Linked DNA regions of Homo sapiens: region 1 is linked to region 2. The links are contacts of gene promoters, found by promoter capture Hi-C in human tissues and cell types (Jung and others, 2019). All regions are on one chromosome and are shown on one strand. The core of a region is centred on a gene start or on the middle of the fragment in contact, and the rest is flanking DNA. Distances in the headings are between cores, read along the strand shown. Region 1 overlaps DZANK1 (double zinc ribbon and ankyrin repeat domains 1). Region 2 holds the start of DZANK1 (double zinc ribbon and ankyrin repeat domains 1).

Region 1 (3,449 bases), core at 390-2,889, 52 kb before region 2:
ATCTCAAGAAAAGTGTACTTGGAACTAATAGGGTTTTCCAGCCTTTGCCTCATCTTCCTTGCTCCTGTCTTTCTCAGCAACTTCCAGCCTGATCCAGGATTAGCCATTTATTATCTAAAAGTCAGCAAATCAAGGGGTGTTTGCCGGCCTGCTTGATGCCTGGAAGATATCTATCCTTTTCAGCTCTGTAATCCAATAGAGCATAGACTTCACTACTAATCCACACTCAGCCACTGGTCACCAACATTTTCTCTAACATACTTTCCTGCATCTAAACCTGGGGACCTGAGAGGACTACCATGAAAGGTTGTGCGTTGCACAACGTCACTGCATTCAAAGTAGTACCATTCATATGGTGAACATCATATATTTGCATATGTATTAGGGTAATTTTTCTAGTAGAGAAACCAGTATATTACAAGCAATTTCCAATAGATGGCAGTCAAGTGTCTTGAGAAAAGAACACCTTTGTTTCATTTGCACAAAGGAATAAGGGCTAGTGGCAGTTTAGGATTTAAATCTTTCAAACTGGGTTAAGAAAGCCATGAACGGCTGGGCATGGTGGCTCATGCCTGTAATCTCAGCACTTTGGGAGGCCACGGTGGGTGGATCACGAGGTAAGGAGTTCGAGATCAGCCCGACCAACATGGTGAAACCCCATCTCTACTAAAAATACAAAAATTAGCCGGGCATGGTGGCACGGGCCTGTAATCCTAGCTACTCAGGAGACTGAGGCAGAAGAATTGCTTGAACCTGGGAGGCAGAGGTTGCAGTGAGCCAAAATTGCACCATTGCACTCCAGCCTGAGCAACACAGCGAGACTCTGTCTCAAAAAAAAAAGGTCATGAACTCCCTAAAACTGCATACAAAGTGCTGAGTGTATCCTCTAATAATGATCAATCTTTAACTTCTTATAATAAAGAGATAAGAAGAAACATGGAAAGTCTTTATCCAGCTTAGAGAAATGTATAAAATTATAAAAATCTAACACAAAGCCAGTTGTTAGAGCTTAAGTACTTCTGAAAATAACCTGGTGAGATTTGTCCTCAAACTATGCCCAGCTGTTATAAATTACAAAAGCAATCTTATATACCCTAAGCTTTCTAAAATATAAAAAAGGGGAAGGAAAAGTTCTCAGAATGCTACATAAGAAATTCAAGAGAAGTGCATTCTGTCTCATGTATTTTAAAGCCACTAAAGTGGCATTATGTCTACGGCCTTGCAAATGCAATTAAAATCTAAATTGACTGCATTTATTTACACACCTAGTTGAAATTCCATGTGAAAGTTCTAAAAGTTTTGGGTCTCTTCCCCGGGTTGATTCACAGGGTGGAGCACACACATTCAGAGTTACAGCCTCTTCCTGGGTACCAGTTCTTACTACAGGGGAGGCCTCACCTCAGAAAAAGGGCGAGGTTCCTCAGCAGCTAGAGCCAGGCTTCTGTCCAAGCTAAGTTTCACTAGGGACTTCACACAAATACCACAGGAGCCACAGAATCGGGCAGACAGGTGATTGCTGGCCCCACATTTAGGGCAAACAGAACAGCCAGCAGGAATGCCGAGCTAGAGGATAGAAAATATCTTGATGAATATTAGAGTTATAATTTCCTCATGTAAATTATTCTCATACCATACAAATTAACATATGCCCAGACTCTCTGACCCAGCCATTCTACCTTCCAGAATTTATCCTACAGATGGACAAGTACAGAAAGAAGTGTACTCCAGGTCAACCCCTAAAACACTGTGGTTTTAAAAGAAATCACTGAAAACAACACACATGTCCAGCAATAGGGATGGTCTAAATATAACACAGTACATACATACAAACAATGGATTATGAAGTCACTGAAAAGAATGAGGAGGTTACTAACAAGACACCTTGCTAGGTGAAAATAATTGGGTCAGTGTTCATAGCACCAGTTTACTTATACATGCATTGAATAGCTGAAAGAACATCTCAAGAACTGGATCTGAGCAATTGCTTCTGAGAGGAGAACTGTGGGACTTAGAGAGAGAGGAGACTAACCCTTCACTCTAAAACTTTTTTGTTATTTGCATGCGATACTTAAATAAATACATAGTCTTGAGTGTTTTATTATAAAGGCAGGCAGACATAATTCATTTTAAAAAATGCCAGTAGTCAATAAACGAGTGAAAAGGTTTAACCTCAAAGAAATGCAAGTCAAAACAGTCATCAGAGATGGCTCTCAGTGTAAGATAATTAATTATCTCTATCTCCAGATTCTTAGGTTATAGGTACCAGTAGCGAAATCACAAGAAGTGATTTCTGCAAGGCCATGGAAGAAGTGCCTGGCTCTCTCCAGGCCAGTGGTGAGGTGCTCAGTATACAGAATCTCAGTTTTAAAATACCCACCATGGCTCCACACCAGCCGCAGAAGGACGCCTCCCAGAGATTCCAGCGACCACATCTGTAGCAGGAAATGGTCCCCCCTTTCTGAGTGGGCGGAGGAGGGGCTTTATCCCCACTGCACATCGACTGGTGAATGAAATGGCATTTAAAGGCAGGATCAGTACTATATTCTCTAATCCCCCTCCCAATTCAAAAAAGATAAAAAATTCCCAGACAAGATGAGCCCCGGAAATAGTGTTTTTTTTGTTTTGTTTTGTTTTGTTTTTTTCCCAAAGGAGTACAGCTATGATGAGTTTCACCAATTAATAAATTAGTACATAGAGCTCACATTCCTTCATGGAGATAACAGAAAGTCAATGAAACTGGTACCTTGCACATCTTAATATTTTTCAATATCTTTAATATCAGGGATAGCAAGCCCTACTGTTGATTTAACAGAACAATATTAATGAAGGAAGAAGAGAGCTAAGCTACCTGAGCGGTCATGATTGAGGCTTATCTTCTATCCTTTGGAGTTTTGGTTTCCATAGAAAAATGTGACTTCATTTCCCATTCTTGACACATGAGAACAATTATTTTATATTGGGGACAGAGGCAGAATTGTTTTGTGAGAATTCCTGGGACTATGTTAGGTAAACCTATATTTGAATCTGTTGCTTCCTCACTATTGCCTGGTAGGAGACTTGCTCACTTCCCAAATGGGAGTGACAGCACAGTGGCTGCTACCTGACCACCCACCATGTGCAGGCTCCATTCCCACACTGCCCTGCACCCTCACGTCAGTCCCACTGTAGACCTGGGAGGTGGGTGCTGTCATTGTCCCCATCTTACAGAGGGAGAGCTTGGGGACACAGAGAGGGTGAGATGCACGATTAGAGCCATCTGACTCTAAAGCCTGGCTTCTCTCCCTGACTCCATACAGCCCCTTCAATACAATAGCTTACTCCCAGGTCTGTAGGGAGTTTCAGACGATTACCCACAGTTAAGTGGATAGGAATGCTTAGCACAGGGCCAAGCTCCACCGGCCAGCTTCCTTCCGGTCCCACCTTCCTTTCCACTAGACCCTGATTTCTTC
Region 2 (3,249 bases), core at 750-3,249:
AAATGAAAGGTTGGTCAAAGCTAACCATTTTAATCTAAATGTATACCACTCTATAAACCATCAATGTACAGCACTGTTTCAAATTTTAGAAGTTTTACAAATTTCCCAAAAAGCTGAGCAAAGAGTGAGAAAGCAGGCAAAGAGATAAACCAGCAACCAGATAACACAAGAAATATGACAATGTTATTTTAAACAATTTCAAACATATGTGATTCTTACCTGATTTCATTTCCAAAAGCGTATTGTTATCAATTTCATGGTTAGCTTTTCCAGGCTGAGGCACTCGTAATGGTATGATCTGAGGGACACACACTGAACCAGCAGTCATTTTCTCTCTCTCTCTCTCTCTCTATATATATATACATATAAATTCCAATGTACACAAAAGCTGAAGAGCAGCACTTAATTTAAATGCAGCAAAACTAGTTAAAACGAGAGAATACTGTTAACATGGCACTACAAATATTATTCCCTTTTTAATTGAAATAATAATTACATTTCATCTGTATTTGCTGTTGAGGTCTTGTGTGGGGTTTTGATTATCTAAATACCTCACTTCTGCGAAAGGAGCATGAATGAATGAGATGGGGAAAAGAAAGAAGTTACTTTAAAAGGACAAATTAAATGAGTAAGGCAAAACAGAGACTATCACTAACGCTCTGACTTGAGTTCCCTGTAAATCATTATCGCCTTTTCCTGCCTCTGGTGTGTGTCAGCTCTCTTGGCTTCAGGGCAAGTCATCATACAAGGGGAACAGAAGTAATTCTGTGTGTACCACAAAATGTTAGTTAGAGCTAACTTTTTTGGGAAAGCTCCGGGTTCACAGCCTTGCCATTATCACCAGAGCAGTTCTAGTATTTGAAAGCTGCAAAGACACTTTAGAAGGACTGCAGAGTACTACTTCTCAGTGGAAAGGAAGTTTGCAAGAATATAAACAGTGACCAATAAACACAAGCCTCCCGTTTCATCTACTGTATTTATAAATCCTGGTATTAATAATTAACTACCAGTATGAAAGCCTTACTGGTCTTTTTGGAGGTGAGGGTGGGGAGGAAGGTTGTCATAATTAATGCACAGAAGGTTTCAGGGGGAAAAAACGCTCACCTTAACACAACAACCATTTACATCTCTGTATTGCCTTTTCAAATTTCATTAATAATCCATAGATTTTGCCCAATTATAATCTACATATTCATTCCATTTTTATAGTCTACTTCTTGCATTCTCACTGTATTATTTAGTTTTCCCTGTACTTATTTATCCATTTGTGGCTGGGCATTTAGGCTATTTCTAGTTTCTTTTTAGTTTTGCCTGTTGCAGTTCTAATAATGCTGATCTGAACATGTCTGCAGTTTGAGCTTTGTCACAGACTGTATTCTCAAAAATGGGGTACCTAAATTTAAGGGGTGAACTTAATGCCTTGTTGGATAGTTCCGGATCTAGGGCCAAGAATATAAACTACAGATACTGACAGCACAACAATAGCTCCTACGGGAGTGTGGCTGGACTTGAGACTTGCCCATAGTCGCATTTCCATTTAAGTGAAAGGCAGATAAAATAAAAGTAGTTGAAAAATTCTAAATAAAAAATATGTAGGAGAGGAAGTAATTCGCGAGCGTCAACTAGCAGCTGCCCTTAGGAAGCTGGGGTGGCCAGTGGGCCCCACGCAAAGGGAATCAAGAAAAAAGGCGGATCCGCCAGGCCCAAATGGCAACGTGCAGTCAACAGGATCCCCAGACCCCTCAACTCTCCCAACGTGGACCGCCCCCTCGCAGCCCGGATCCGGAATCCCGTTTGGTTGTTCCCGCCCATCAGGGGCTGCCAAGGACACCTGCATCCTTTCGGCTGGAGTAAGGGAAGCTCTTCCCCTCCTCTAGCCGCCCTCCTCTTCCTCTAACCGCGGGGCCCGGGATCGGGACCCCTAATGCATCTCTGCCGCGCCCAACCCAGTCGCCAGCCTCTCACCGCCTCTTGCCTCCTCCTTCGCCGCCGCCCGGGTTACCACAGACGCGGCGAGCCGCGCCCCGCCCACTGGGTGCTGGGCAGATGATTGGTGGAGACTCAGCTTCTTAGCAACTAGACCGGCCCCTGCCGCTCCGCAGGGAGCCTGGTACCCGCCTGGAGTTCCTTTCCCAGTGCTTTCCCATAGGCATCTAAGAATATTCCTTCACAGAGTTGCCAAGTGCTAAAAGTTGGTTTCCCAACTCAGAATGAAGGAACCAGGCTTGTGCGTCCGATGGGCATTGACATTCTGGAAAACAAGAATAAGAAGCTGTAGCGGCGCCTGTAAGTGGGCCGGAGCAGGCGCAGCTTGGCCACCTCCCGCCGAAAGGCAAGGAAGGACCGGCTGCGACACGAGGAAGAAGGCCCCTCGGCCTCAGCAGAGCGCTATCCTCCACTGGTTCCCCGGGTTCCCCGGCTTGCTACCGGGCTGCTCCGTGCATCTTTCCCCCCAGGCGTCAGGAACTGCGCCCTCATGGCGGAGGTGAAGGTGAAGGTGCAGCCGCCTGACGCGGATCCGGTCGAAATAGAAAACAGGTAAACCAGTGAGGCTCCGGCTTGGCACTCCATCAGGCGCCCAGTCATTTGGGCAGCTGGACCCCTTCTCCGGGATCCCTTGGGAGTGGCCGGAGCGGGTTAGGTGAGCACGCGGGAAAAACGATTGCGGGGTTCTGGACCCACTTGTTCCTTCCCATCCTGGGAGAGCAGAACTCAAGAAGTTCAAAATGGGTTTGACAGCTTGCAACTTTGTGTAGCTGGCTGGCTTTGCCCTGATACTTTTGGGGAAGTTGTGATGACGTGCTGCCTTCCTACTTTGACGCGATCAGTGCTTTGAGAGGAGCCCTCGGCTTTCTTTCCCTGTAGAACACTTGTGAATACATGTTCTGATCCAGGATCGCTCTTGTCACTAAGGGAACGTCTATGACAAAACGTTTAGGCGGAGTTAGGGCGCAGTTGGTGATTACGAAGTAACATTAAGCCAGGTGGTTTCAGTGCAGTATTGAACTCAAGACTTTTAGGACACCCAAAGCCTCTGCCACTTTTATTTTTATTTGTTTGTTTGTGAGACAGAGTCTCGCTCTGTCGCCAGGCTGGAGTGCAGTGGCGCGATCTCGGTTCACTGCAATCTCCGCCTCCCGGGTTCAAGCGATTCCCCTGCCTTAGCCTCCCGAGTAGCTGGGACTACAGGCTCGCGCCACCACGCCCAGCTAATTTTTTATGTTTTAGTAGAGACGGGGTTTCACCATG

The links. The method cuts DNA at HindIII sites, captures the fragments that hold promoters and counts their contacts. A contact is called where the count stands out against the background at its distance.
Region 1: a contact is called between a fragment that was not itself captured here and the fragment with the promoter of DZANK1 in region 2, in 2 of the 25 tissues and cell types used here (dorsolateral prefrontal cortex and mesendoderm cells).

The regions. Positions count from the first base shown.
Region 1 is chr20:18,412,950-18,416,398 of GRCh38, forward strand. DZANK1 (double zinc ribbon and ankyrin repeat domains 1) reads right to left here. Exons shown (of 21, transcript NM_001367614.1): 11 at 2,378-2,500; 12 at 1,399-1,563. Among named protein-coding and RNA genes, the nearest start is that of LINC00851, 36 kb to the left of the region's middle. RefSeq lists a silencer at 553-602. The HindIII fragment of the contact is 5,054 bases long and covers 1-3,449 here.
Region 2 is chr20:18,465,031-18,468,279 of GRCh38, forward strand. DZANK1 (double zinc ribbon and ankyrin repeat domains 1) reads right to left here and starts at 2,000. Exons shown (of 21, transcript NM_001367614.1): 1 at 1,966-2,000; 2 at 220-347. The coding sequence starts at 328. It overlaps POLR3F (RNA polymerase III subunit F), which reads left to right and starts at 2,360. Exons shown (of 9, transcript NM_006466.4): 1 at 2,360-2,538. The coding sequence starts at 2,477. RefSeq lists enhancers at 1,880-2,498, 2,121-2,440. The HindIII fragment of the contact is 23,548 bases long and covers 1-3,249 here.